Linked DNA regions of Homo sapiens: region 1 is linked to region 2. Evidence: promoter capture Hi-C in 16 types of primary human blood cells and fetal thymus (Javierre and others, 2016). All regions are on one chromosome and are shown on one strand. The core of a region is centred on a gene start or on the middle of the fragment in contact, and the rest is flanking DNA. Distances in the headings are between cores, read along the strand shown. Region 1 holds the start of PIGP (phosphatidylinositol glycan anchor biosynthesis class P). Region 2 holds the start of BRWD1-AS1 (BRWD1 antisense RNA 1).

Evidence for each region. The method cuts DNA at HindIII sites, captures the fragments that hold promoters and counts their contacts. A CHiCAGO score of 5 or more calls a contact.
Region 1: the fragment with the promoter of PIGP here is called in contact with the fragment with the promoter of BRWD1-AS1 in region 2 in 2 of 17 cell types (monocytes and erythroblasts); the score reaches 14.6 in monocytes.

What each region holds. Positions count from the first base shown.
Region 1 is chr21:37,069,649-37,076,129 of GRCh38, reverse strand. PIGP (phosphatidylinositol glycan anchor biosynthesis class P) reads left to right here and starts at 3,059. Exons shown (of 5, transcript NM_153682.3): 1 at 3,059-3,130; 2 at 3,593-3,696. The coding sequence starts at 3,615. TTC3 (tetratricopeptide repeat domain 3) reads right to left here and starts at 2,876. Exons shown (of 46, transcript NM_001330683.2): 1 at 2,657-2,876. RefSeq lists silencers at 2,469-2,528, 2,749-3,068, 3,309-3,588 and an enhancer at 2,867-3,161. The HindIII fragment of the contact is 9,103 bases long and covers 1-5,883 here.
Region 2 is chr21:39,314,173-39,320,910 of GRCh38, reverse strand. It overlaps BRWD1-AS1 (BRWD1 antisense RNA 1), which reads right to left and starts at 5,204. Exons shown (of 3, transcript NR_046655.1): 1 at 5,096-5,204; 2 at 3,702-3,866. BRWD1-AS2 (BRWD1 antisense RNA 2) reads right to left here. Exons shown (of 1, transcript NR_111942.1): 1 at 5,996-6,738. It also overlaps a transcript of BRWD1 not described here. RefSeq lists enhancers at 5,096-5,790, 5,791-6,486. The HindIII fragment of the contact is 2,798 bases long and covers 2,806-5,603 here.

The sequences.
Region 1 (6,481 bases), core at 1,810-4,309, 2.2 Mb after region 2:
CATATCTGATAAAATTATTTTTAAAAACAAGGCATAATATACACAATTCAGGATGGTAGTCACCTCTGGAAGTAAGCACATTCAATACTGGTCATTTTGATTATTGGATTGAGTGGTGAATTCATAGGTGTTCATTTTATTGTTCTGCTATACAGCTTGCATATGTTTTACATATATTTTGAATTTATCAAATACTACAATAAAATGGAGAGGAAAAGAAAAATTTTTTAAACATTCATCATAAGAAAAAAAATACTTTTAATTAAATCACCTCACCTGCCACTAAAGAGGTACATATTTAACATATCATGGAAATTCTATCTATACATCAATCATAGGATCTGACATACATTAGGTATACAACAAATGTTCATTGGAATTAATCTTATGAGAACCAAAGGAGATAAAGACTAAGCCAATTAGCTATAAGAGATAAATCCATAGGCTGACACAGGGCTACAAGAGAAGCCAAGGTGGCTACAAGCAAATTTAGCAGCAACCAAAAGTCATAAGGAAGCTGGTCAGTAAAGAGATGGCAAAAATGTAAAGTCTCATAACATAAAGTGTTAGCAGGGTTGTGAGGAAATTGTGTTCTCACTCAACACCAGTGACAGTGAAAATTGGTACAACCACTTCGAGAGCTTCTGTGATACTTGGTTAAATTGAAGACGCACATAGCCTACAATCCGGCAAATCTACTACTTAGGTGTACTTCCTACAGAAACTTCCAAATGTGTGCACAAGCAGACAAGTACAAAGATATTTATTGCAGGACTGTTTTTAAGAGTCAAAAACTGAAACAAGTTCAAAGTCTATCAACAGGGGAATGTATAAATAAATATGGTATATTCATACAACGCAATTCTATACCAGCAATTAAAATGAATGAACCAAAGATAACACAATCATTCAATTTGTTCATATATAAACCTCAAAATATGATGCTGAGCAAAAAAAAAAAAAGCAAGTTGCAAAAAGGCATGTATATTTTAATGCCATTAAAGTTTAAAAACAAACAATAATATATATTGTGTATGGATTCACCTTGATCAAAGTATAAAATATGCAAAGTAAAGATATACACAAACCTCAACGCAGTGGCTATCTCTAGAAAAGGAGGGGAAGGAACTGAGAGCAATTTTATTTCTTTAAAAAAAAAGAGTATCTGAAGTAAATTTGGCAAAAGATTAAATAATCACGTCTGTAAAATCTGAATCATGGATTGGTTAGCTCCCCCTCTGTATTTGATATCTGAAATATTCCAAAAATTAAAAGAAAAAAAGGAAAATTAGACAATAAGAAAATTGGGCAGAACAAAGACACCAAAACGCAGCCCTTGAGCGCAGAGCACGAAACCTTGAGCAATCGGAGCAGTAGCTGGGTCTCTAAGGGGTTTGAAGTTTCTTACCCTAGGTATCCTTATACTATATCCCATTTTCCTTAGGATAAATCGCAAATTTCTTGCAACAAAAAATGTCCTAACTAGAGTCGTAGTTATAAGGAAAAGGCTCTCTCCGGAGGAGTAAAATCTGTAAAATTTCTACCTTGTTTCCCTCGCCAGGATCTTGGGCAAAATGGAAAGAGATTTAGGTGAATGCCATAAAATACTCTATAAACCATTAAATATCATCAAGAACGCCTAAGGACCGCATCGCCCAGTAGGAGAGTGCATATATTTTGAAAGGTCTCTGCAACTGAGGGGGTTTTGGCGTCCAGGGCGCCACTGGAAAAGGCACGGCGCACTGGTACCAGCCCAAATTCACCTACGTCTCGGCTTCATTTTTTATCTTTGATCCCCCTATTCTGTCTCCTGAACAGGCTGGCTGAAGAGGCCACACTGGCAGCGTCAACACTGCGGAGCAGCTGGCCAGACTCGATCCTGTCCACCCCCCTTCCCATTAGCGTCTGTGGGAGAGAATGCTCAGAAAGAGGCGCGGGGGCGAGGGGAGCGGCGAGGTTACCCCCCTCCTGGGTCCGTTCCGTGGGGACAGGCCCTGGACTGGACTGCCAGTTCACACGAAAACAGGTGGCAACAGAGTCGTGACACGCACACACAGCAAGGGGTGTGCACGAACGTTCACGCTCACCAACGAAACCTGCACACAAGAGATACCCACTCGACAGAATTAAATCCGCACACAAGAGATCACGCACTCAACAGGACCCATGCGCAGACACTCTGCGTCACTCGGAGACACGCAAGGACGCACACTTGCGCGAGCAAGGCTCTAGGCGGGGGTCGCAATTGCAGAAGGCGCGGCCACGCGCGCTAGGGGACGCGCAGCCCACAGACAGGGGCAGTAACACAAAGGGGGGCCACCTGCAAGGCCGAGAGCGCCCACGCAGCCGCCAGGGAGCGCGGACACCGACACAAAAGGGGCGACGAGGCGACACGCGAGCGCCTCCACCCAGCGGAGGTGTCAGCCACGCACCGGCCGAGGCACGGGCAGCGGGGGGTTGCGCACAAAGGGACTACTCACACCCTCGCACCGGCATCCCAGGGCCTCGCTCGCGAAGGGGCACCAGACCAAGGGGGCAAACCCACTGGGGTAGGCAATGGCGGCCACACCCCCTCATCGCGCGGGACCCAACCCATGCAGACACAGTAGGCACCTCAGCGAGGGACGCGAGGAGACGCGCACACACCCACACTCACCACACACCCACGGAGGGGGTGTGGAAGGCCCCGCTCCCCCGGCATCTCGGCTGCAGCGGGACAAGGTGACACATCCGGGAGCCCGGCAGCGCGCCGGGTGTGCACTCACCCGGGCCCGCCGCCCGCGAGCCTCGGACGCGGGCAGCAGCAGCAGCAGCCGCCGCCGCCGCCGCCGCCACCTCCGGCCCTCCACGTCAGCCGACGGCGGGAGGGAGCGGGTGGCGGCGTTGAAGCGAGGTGCGTCACGTGGGCTGGCAGCGCGCGTGCGCAGTCGCACCCCACCGCCCCCTCCTTCGCCGTCGCGAGCCGCGGGATCACGCCCGCCCCCGCGCTCGCTGGCTCCCACCCGGGGAGGGTCGTTGTGCGCCTGCGCCAGGGTGGGGGTTGCCGTCGCGCCTAGGCCTTTCCCTCAGGTTTTCCTCTTCCCCACTGCGGCTCCCCAGTCGGCGCTTGCGCGGAGAACTCAGCGCTGAGGTGGCCGAGGTGTCGGGAGGGGCCTGGGTGGGCGTATGAAGGACCCGAGGTCGAGGGCCCCCCCATACCCCGCCTCGAATGAGAAATAGAAGTCTCCACGAATGGGCAGGGCCCGGGGCCTGGGCGCCGCGACCTAGTAGGCCCGCATGCTGGTGGGCGCCGCGCGAGCCTTGTTCCCTGCCCTCCCCTCCCACAGGGAGGCCACGCTTGCAGAGCTGGAGCGCGCGTCTATCGCCCCAGAACCCCCCTCCCTGCCCTATCCTCCGCCACCCCTTCTGTTGCGGGGCGCGCGCCAGCCTGGGTGTCTGTATGCGCTCGAGGCGGGGGCGCGGGTTGCGGACGGAGGCGCGGGAGGCGGTTCTGCGCGGCGGGGGCCGTACCCGCGGCGGAGCGAGGAGGCGAGAATGGATCAATGGTGCCACGGAGCACATCGCTGACGCTGATTGTGTTCCTTTTCCACAGATTGTCTAAAGCCCCAGGAAAAATGGTGGAAAATTCACCGTCGCCATTGCCAGAAAGAGCGATTTATGGCTTTGTTCTTTTCTTAAGCTCCCAATTTGGCTTCAGTAAGTACTTTCCTGATGGATGGCCAGGGGCTTTTTCTGGCGTTCAGTGACAAGGGAAGAATACATTGGTTAGACTGTGCACACATGAACTGTTGATTCTTTCTCCCTATGTCTCTTTTTAAGAAAATCTGAAGGGATCTCGTGTTTGCTGAGTGTTCCGTGTGCCAGCACTAGCCTAGGAGGTTTTAGTCTCTACAAATATTTATACAGCACCAGACGCGATGGCAAAGTGGATAAAGCCTGGTCCCTGCCCTTAAGGAGGTCGTGGTCTTGTGGAGGAGACAGATGGGTAAATCTACAGTTAATGCTCAGTGTGATGAGTGTCAGGGAGCACGGTGGAGAGACATTGAAACCAGACTGGAAAGTCAAGGCTTTCTACAGAGGCCTTTCCCCCTGGCACTGATGCTGATTAGGAAAGAGTAAGAGGGAGGGAAGAAGTGGAAAGGCCTTGAATGAGGGCGTGAGAGGGTTTGGACCCGAGGAGCTTGTGATGTCACCAGTGTGCCCTGCGGGATCTGGGGAACAGGAGAAGTAGGCCAGAGAAGTCGGGTTGAAAGGTGTGTCGTTTGCGTCCTGGATCTCCCTTAATTTAACCCCATAACATTCCATTTTACAGATAAGGAGACTGATGCTCACTAAGACACTAATATGCCCACTCACACAGCAAGTCCCAAGTCTCTCCCCAAAATGATTTGAGAATTTTGAGGCACACAAAAGGGAGAAAATTGAGTGCCCGTGATCCAACGTTCTGCAACTGTTTGGAAACCAGGAAAGTGGAGGAGTGGTAGTACTTCTGAACCCTAACTAAAATATATCAGCCTGCACCATCAGCACAGCTTGCAGATGAATGTAATGGCCAGGCTATTAAAACTGAAGTGAAGTGAAGAAGTTACAACTGAGTTCGAATTCTGACTCCTCCACAGATTAGCCATGTGAGCTGGGACCCTCAGCAAATTTTTTGAGCCTCAGGTTCCTTATCTGTAAAAGGGTAGTGATAATGATGGTTATTAAATGCTTATGACGCATGAAACAGTTCTATGGGGTAGGTTCTGTTATTACTGTCCTTTAAAGATGAGCATCCTGTGGTTTCAGTAACTTGCTCAAGATTGCAAAGCTACTAAATAAAAGCCTTCTAAATTTGAACCCAAATACACTGGCTGACTTCACTCTGCTGCCTCTTCTGACTGTTGTGAGGATTAACGGGGGTAATTTATGTAAAGCACGTAAAATAATGCCTAGGAACAGTTAGGGACTTAATAAGTGTTAGCTACTGATGTTATTGTTAGCACTTTTGTAAATCCTTGTTCAAAGAGTATGTCAAGGATTAGAAGCTATATGAATAAATAAAAGCAATCACTTTAAGGCTTAAATTCTGGCCGGCCTGGTGGCTCACGCCTGTAATCCCGGCACTTTGGGTGGCCGAGGCAGGCAGATCATCTGAGGTCGGGAGTTTGAGACCAGCCAGACCAACATGGAAAAACCCTGTCTCTACTAAAAATACAAAATTAGCCGGGATGGTGGCGCATGCCTGTAACTCCAGCTACTCGGGAGGCTGAGGCAGGAGAATCGCTTGAACCCGGGAGGCGGAGGTTGCCGTGAGCTGAGATTGCACTTTTGCACTCCAGCCTGGGCAACGAGCGAAACTGTCTCAAAACAAAATTAAATTCCATCATACCCACAACCAAAAAGTAATTCAAGTATTTATTGGTGCTTACCATGTGCCAGGCACTGTTACAGGCCAGGAAGGACCAAAACAGCCAAAAATGCCCTGCTTTGAGTCTTCATTCTCATGCCGGGGGGAGATAGTCAATGGGCAAGTTAAATAAGAAAAACGTATATAGTATCAGGTGATAACGTACTATGGGGAGAAATTAAGCAAAGGGAAGGAGGATACGAAGTGGAAGGAGGGCCTTCTAATGTGCTTCTATGTCATCTTTTATTACTCATTCGTGAGCACTTGTAACAATGTAGTGAAAATACCAATTTTCTCTATTCACCACTAGATTTTAAGTTTAGGGAGGGCAGAAGCCATCTCTTTTGGATTCAATATTGTGTCTCACACACCTGACATACAGAATTCTGTAATACATATTTGTTAAGAAAAGAATGCATCATCACTGATGTAGTAGGTAGTTAAAATTTATCTTTGCCGCTTACCTTGGGTAGGTGATGTATCCTTTCTAAGCTTCCATTTCCTCATCATTTAAAATTGCATACTTGCCTTGGAGGATTGTCTTGGAGGATTATCTTAATGCATACAGAATGCTTGGAACTGTGCTTAACCCACAGTGAGTGCTCAGAACTTAGCCATTGTTGTTATCGTGGGATAACAGTAAAGAGTGCCGAGATTTCGGATTGAGGGAAATAACATTGTACTCTGGGAGATAGGGCAGAAGCTCAGTATGTGGTGGATGAGAACTAGGGTAGGTAAATTTCCCTTTGAGCAATTAAATGTCTATAATTACTTCAACCTTGTGGGGATGAAGTATTGAACACTTACTGTACCTAAAGCAAACTGCTAGGTAATAAGGATTACAACAATTGCTAAGCCATGATTTGTATCCTTGAATTGCTTAAAATATAATGTGAGTTAAGATATTAAAAAAAAAGACTAATACAGTAATTATAAGTATTATAAGAATTGTGCAAACGAGCTAGAAGAACTGAAAGGAGGAAAAAATCATTTCTGAGTTAATCAGGGACACTTCAAAAGAGCTTTTCTGTTTTATCTGAATCTTAATAGATTGATAGATTAGATGTATGTCTTACTGACTTCTCTTCCTCT
Region 2 (6,738 bases), core at 3,955-6,454:
GGATCACCTGAGGTCAGGAGTTCGAGACCAGCCTGGCCAACATGGTAAAACCCTGTCTTTACTAAAAATACAAAAATTAGCTGGATGTGGTGGTGTGCACCTGTAGTCCCAGCTACTGGGGAGGCTGAGGCAGAATTGCTTGAACCTGGGAGGCGGAGGGTGTAGTGAGCCGAGATCATGCCATTGCACTCCAGCCTGGGCAAGAGAGCAAGATTCTGTCTCAAAAAAAAAAAAAAAAAAAAAGATATGACTCTAAGGTTTTTGAAAAGAGATTAACGGCTTGGGTATGGTAGTCACACCTATAATCCTAGCACTTTGGGAAGCTGAGCCAGAGGATTGCTTGAGCCCAGGAGTTCGAGACCAACCTGGACAACATGGTGAATCCCCGTCTGTAGAAAAAATGCAAAAACTAGCCAGTTGTGGTGGTGGGTGCCTGTAGTCCCAGTTACCTGGGAGGCAGAGGTGGGAGGATCAATTGTGCCTGAAAGATCGAGGCTGCAGTGAGACGTGATTGCACTACTGCACTCCACCCTGGATGACAGACTGAGACACTGTTTCAACAAGAAAAAAAAGGGAAGCCCAACTCCTTAAGGGGCAGGGGAGGCAGTGGTCTTAAAGCCCAGAGAGGGTCTCTATGTGCAAAGAGAGGGTCTCTATATGCACACAAATAGCAGTTACTATCAACCTGTGGCTTGGCAGGAAAGGAGCTGGGAAAATGGAAACTCCAACCTCACTCTCCTCCCACCCTTCCATCTCTGGCTGAGGCCTCTTACCAGATGAATCCCATTGGAAACTCAAGGGCAAGCGAGCCATGGCTTTACTGCACAGTCATCTTTCCTGGGTGTGGAGCAGGGAGGGAGGAGAGTAGAATGTCCTCCACAGTGTTAAAAGCAAGCCAAGGAGTTTGGGTTTGAGGTGACAGCGAATGAGAAAGACGTGAACAGGGAAGCAATATGTTAAGTTGCACTTAAGGTTTTTAAAAGTAGTGACAGGATTATCTCCAAAGAAGATACAGAAGTGGCAAAGAAAATAAAAATAAATAAATGAAAAGAAAAAAATAAAATGACAGGATTAATTAGGTGGAGAGTCAGGGAGAACTTTAAGGAGGATGCTTGTTGATGATTGAGGGCCTGAACTAAGTGGGAATGGAGAGAAAAAGAATTATTCTTATATAACAGGGTCATGTTGAGAGCTGGGCATTGTTCAGCGAGCTTCACAGGCATGCTCTCTGGAAATGCTCACAAACACCTCTAGCTGTCTCATGATCCTTAAATAATGCATGGAAATGATTTAGGACAGTGTCCAGCATACAAACATATCCAATAAATGTTATTAGTTGTCATGCTTATTTTAAAGATTATTAAACAAAACGAACAGAAAAATATCCGAGCCAAGAGGTTGCCCAACTCCGACATCCAAACACAGACACATTCTGATCCCAGCTCCCATGTTCCCAAGGTCTTGTCCAACCACACTGTGTTTTCTCTAGTGCTGTGAGAAATGTTTCAAAGTAAGAACGAGTAAGACTTGGAGACAGACATGGGCCAGCGCCTGCAAGCTGGGAACAAATAGGACAGAAGCCAATGGCAAGGGAGAGGCAGAAGTTGGAGAGGGAAGAGATAAATGTGGAAACAATTTGCTGAGGAAGGCAGGGACAAGTAGCATTAAGGGGACAGCTGGTTGGGTTAGACTTAAAAGGAAGAAAAGGTCCTGTGGGAAAGATGACACCACTAGTAGGTGGAGGAAGGGCATCAGGAATTAAATGCAATATAATATCTACTAGTGACTAAGGGCTTATCAAAAGATCAGATACCTTCTTCATTTTTACTTTGAAAGTCCTCCAAAAATCGATCAAAGTCCAGGTGTGGTGGCTCACGCCTGTAATCCCAGCACTTTGGAAGGCCAAGACAGGAGGGTCACTTAAGGCCAGGCAATGCAGTGAGACCCTGTCTCTAAAAAATAAATAAATAAATAAAATCTATCGAAGTGTTAACTCTCCTCTTCCTAGGGAATTTATCCAACAGAAGTCCAGGAAGATCAAGGCGGGAGGATCACTTGAGGCCAGGAGTTTGAGACCAGCCTGGGCAACAGAGCAAGACCCGCATCTCTAAAAAACAGTAAAAAATTAGCCAGGCATGGTGGTGCACACCTGTAGTCTCAAGTACTCAGCGGTAGGACTGCGAGGCTGCAGTGAGCTCTGACTGTACCACTGCACTCCTGCCTGTGTGACAGAATGACATACTGTCTCTAAAGCGGAAAAAAACAAAACAAAAAACAGCCCAGGAGCCAGGGAAGACTTTTAACACATATTTTGTTGAATGAATGAATGAAGTGATCCAGGTTTTTGTGTGCATTTAATTTCACCTCTAGGTGCTGATCCAGTTTGTGGTATAGTGTTCTGGAGGTCCAACGTCATCTACTTCCTGCCCTTCAGAGGTATGCTGATGTTGTGTGTACATCAACATCAGCACAGCCTCCTGAATGAACCTAAATTCAGTTAACACAAATTTGCATTAAAACTAATATTAGGCTTTGGATTAGGTATCTGAGTTGTTTTGCATGTTCTCCATTGCTCACAGATTTCCTTATCTCATTTTTCAGAGTCTTTTGAAATGGACTCTAATCTACTAATTCATTCCATTTTGACCACTCTCTTATGTGAATTGTTGGAACCAGACTTCTTTGGTCACCATTTTCTAGATATGCATTCATATTTAACGTTGTTGGGCTTCCTAAGTGGTGATTTGGAAGGCCTTACTGAATTTTATTTTCCTCTCATTCACAGACAGATTAAAAAAAAAAGCTTTCCATTTTTAGGCAAATTCTTAAACTTTATTAGCCTTAGTTCCTCATTCTTTTTTGAGACAGGGTCTCGCTCTGTTGCCCAGGCTGGAGCACAGTGGTACCACCATAGCTTGTGACAGCCTTAAACTCCTGGGCTCAAGTGATCTCCTGCCTCAGTCTCCCCAAATAGCTCAAACTACAGTCACCCAACACCATGCATGGACTAAGTTTTTAATTTTTTGTAGAGAGAGGGTCTCACTATGTTTAAGACCAGCCTTGAACTCCTGGGCTCATGCGGTCCTCCTGCCTTGGTCTTCCAAAGTGCTGATAGCACAGACGAGAGCCACTACGCCCAGACTAGTTTCCTCATTCTTAAAATGGGAATAACAGAATCTAAGAGTTGCCTGCGGTAAATGAGATTACACACGTACTTATCACGTGGGCTTCCAAATGTCAGCTCTCTGATGCGCTAGCTGTGCAATCCTGTGTAAGTCTCCTAATTTTCAGGTCCCATTTCCTCTTTTGTGAAACGTGGCCAAGGGAGAATGGACTTTGCAGTGTTTGTGTTTCAGTCTAAGATAATACTGTCTACTTGGGATTGCAGTCCAGCCACCACTTACCAGCTATATGCCCTTGGGCCATACTTCCTCTGCGCCTCAGCTTGAGCCTATCAATGACATCTAAGAGCTGTTTATCCAGTCAGGAGTTGCTTGCCACGGCATAAGATGTTGGTTCCCTTGAAAATGCAACCCTATAGCTTAATGTCACCCACTGTTAAGATTTTCCAACACTTGCTTACCATGTAGCTTTCTTGTGGTGAAACTCTAAAGTTATTTCCATTTACCCAAAAGCAAACCTCAGTGTGTACATATGGAATGGCTGGGATTGAATTGTGTGAGGAATACACAGATTCTTGCCTTGTTTGGAGACCACTTCTGGTGGGTACCCACTAAGGAGTTGCTCCTGGACAGTGTATTTCTTTTTCCTCCTCCTGGCAGGCAAATATGAGTCACATCTGAGTCTCTTGACATATGGGAGTCGAATCGGGAAGATATTCTCTCTCTTGTTAGAAATCTTTGTTCCTATTCAAAATTTAGAAAGAATATTTGTCATGAATGTGATAGTAAGTTGTAAAAGGACTCCCAAGGCTCTTGTAAAGGAAAACTCATGTCATCGTGTCTTTTTTTTGAGACAGGGTCTTGCTCTGCTGCCTAGGCTGGAGAGCAGTGCTGTGATCATGGGTCACTGCAGCGTCAATCCCCCCCGGCTCTAGCCATTCTCATGCCTCAGCCTCTTAAGTAGCTGGGGCTACAGGTACACACCTACCACCCCTGGCTATTTTTTATTTCTTGTAGAGATGGGGTCTTACTATGTTACTCAGGCTGGTCTCGAACTCCTGGGCTCAAGCAGTCCTCTGGCCTTGGCCTCCCAAAGCGCTGGGATTACAGGTGTGAGCCACTGTGTCTGGGCTCGTGTCATCATTTCTGATCTCTTGTAATGGTTATCATGGTGCCAGTATCAGAACGATAATTTTGGACAATGACCAGAGCTTGGGATATAAATTCTTGTAATATCTTTAGGGGGTTTTTAATCTTACGCCCTTGTTACAAAATGAAATGCACAACTCCTTGGTCAATCATTGAAAGTTTAAATTCTCCCCTCTTGATGTCTTTGTCATTTGGTAACACTGGTAATCTTGCAGCATCAGATCACTGTCCCACAGTCATCTATGCACTGTAACTTCAAATAATCAAGTTGTTGCAAGCAGTTACTCATCTTAACAATCTAGCTACCAGCCTGTATGCCCTACCTTATTTGTTGGCACAACCTTGGAAAGCCCCAAACGAGATTTTTGTGGTTTTTATTTCACCCCAACTTCATCTTGCAGATTTACTGTCCTACATACTTCTGATCTTGTCTCTTCTCTATCCTTATGACCAACGCCCTCATGCATCATTTCTTTTCTATTTCAGGGGTATGTTAAGTGCCTCTTGGTCTTAACTTTCTCAAATCCATCCTAAAATAGAAAATGATTCCTTCCTGGCTTAGAATCTTTCAATTGCTCCCAATTTCAACTTCTGACATCATGGTCCCATCCTCTCCAAAGTCACCCCAAGTAGTCATACTAAACTTCTGGTTCCTTAAACTAGAAATCATATTCATGTCTTGGCCCTCTGTTGTTTGTATGTGCGAAATCCCTTTCCACACATTGTAGCCTGGATAACCCAAACTTCCCTAACATTTCCCCCACGCACAGGCAAGCTGATCTTCTGATATATCTCTGCCCTAAATCGTGTCATTATTTGCTTACATCTGTTTCCCCTAAGAGACGCTGAAGTCTTTGATGGCAAAGCTGTGGCTCATTCCTTTTTTTTTTTTAATCTCCATCACTTGTTAGTGCTTGCTGAATTAACAGATGTAAGGAGTTAACTTACTGTTGCACTAGCTCAAACATATTTAGATTGTTACCTCACAAATAGCTTTTTTTTTTTGGAGACGGAGTCTCGCCTTGTCGCCCAGGCTGGAGTGCAGTGGCGCGATCTCGGTTCACTGCAGCCTCCGCCTCCGGGGTTCAAGCGATTCTCCTGCCTCAGCCTCTCAAGTAGCTGGGACTAGAGGCGCGCACTGCCACACCTGGCTAATTTTTTTATTTTTAGTAGAGACGGGGGTTTCACTATGTTGGCCAGGATGGTCTTGATTTCCTGACCTCGTGATCCGCCTGCCTCGGCCTCCCAAAGTGCTTGGGACTACAGGCGTGAGCCACCATACCCGACAGCCTCACAGATATCTATGTCCATTTATAAATATATATAAAAGCTTTTGGCCAGGCGCAGTGGCTCATGCATGTAATCCCCAGCACTTCGGGAGGCCAAGGCGGGTGGATCACCTGAGGCCAGGAGTTCGAGACCAGCCTGGCCAACATGGTGAAACCCGTCCCTACTAAAAATATAAAAATATAAAAATTAGCCGGACGTGGTGGCGCTTGCCTGCAATTCCAGCTACTCGGGAGGCTGAGGCACAAGAATCGCTGGAACCCGGGAGGCAGAGGTTGCAGTGAGGTGAGATCGCGCCACTGCACTCCAGCCTGAGAGCAAGACCCTGTCTCAAAATAAATAAAAGCTTTTGCTATTTGGTGTAAATAAAAGCCAACTTGTACACGGTGCTTACTGTATACCAGGAACACAAATTCATTAAATCCTCACAACTTTGAGACAGGCACAAATATTATCTGTTTACTAGTGAGGAATTACCTACGGTTTACTAGTAAGGAACACTGAGACCCACAGGTTGTGACTTGCTCAAGGTCAAGCTGGTGGAGCCAAGACAAGGTGCAGGCAGTGAGTCCTGCCCTAGAGTCTGACCCGAACCACATTTAACGTCTATGTGGTGTGTAGGTTATTGCCATGAGTAAGAATCAGAATTGTTAACGCGCATTCCAGGAAGGCAGGGACACCACTGAGTGTTACTGCTGTACTTTAGGGGCCAGAGCAGGGCAGGCTGGATGCGCGGAGGAAACTCATAGTTAGGTCAGAAGCCTGGCAAGACAAGGGAATTTTCTGGTCGTCGTCCACCTCTCCAACCTCACATCCTACTAGTCTTCCAAGAGGATTCTAACTGCACATGACTCCCTAGTTTCCGGCTTCTCTTCCTAAGGAGGGTCTGCGGCCCGTCTGCACCACCCTCTCCCCACAGTCCCGTTTTCCTGTCCATGCTTGGATGGATCCAGCCGAGCCGTCAGCCGCAGCTGCGCGCTGCTCCCCCGACTCGCACCCCCTCGGCGAAGCGCTGCATTTTATGTAATTTTCTGCCGGGCTGCTGGCTTGTGGGGGATGTGGCTGGGTCTCGGCAGCCTTCAGCGCCGCAGACGCTCCGGCAACGCCAGCATACGAGGCCCCCGCCCCAGGAGCGCGGGTCCGGGCGGCGTTCCCCTCTGCGGGAGGCGCGGCGAGCCAA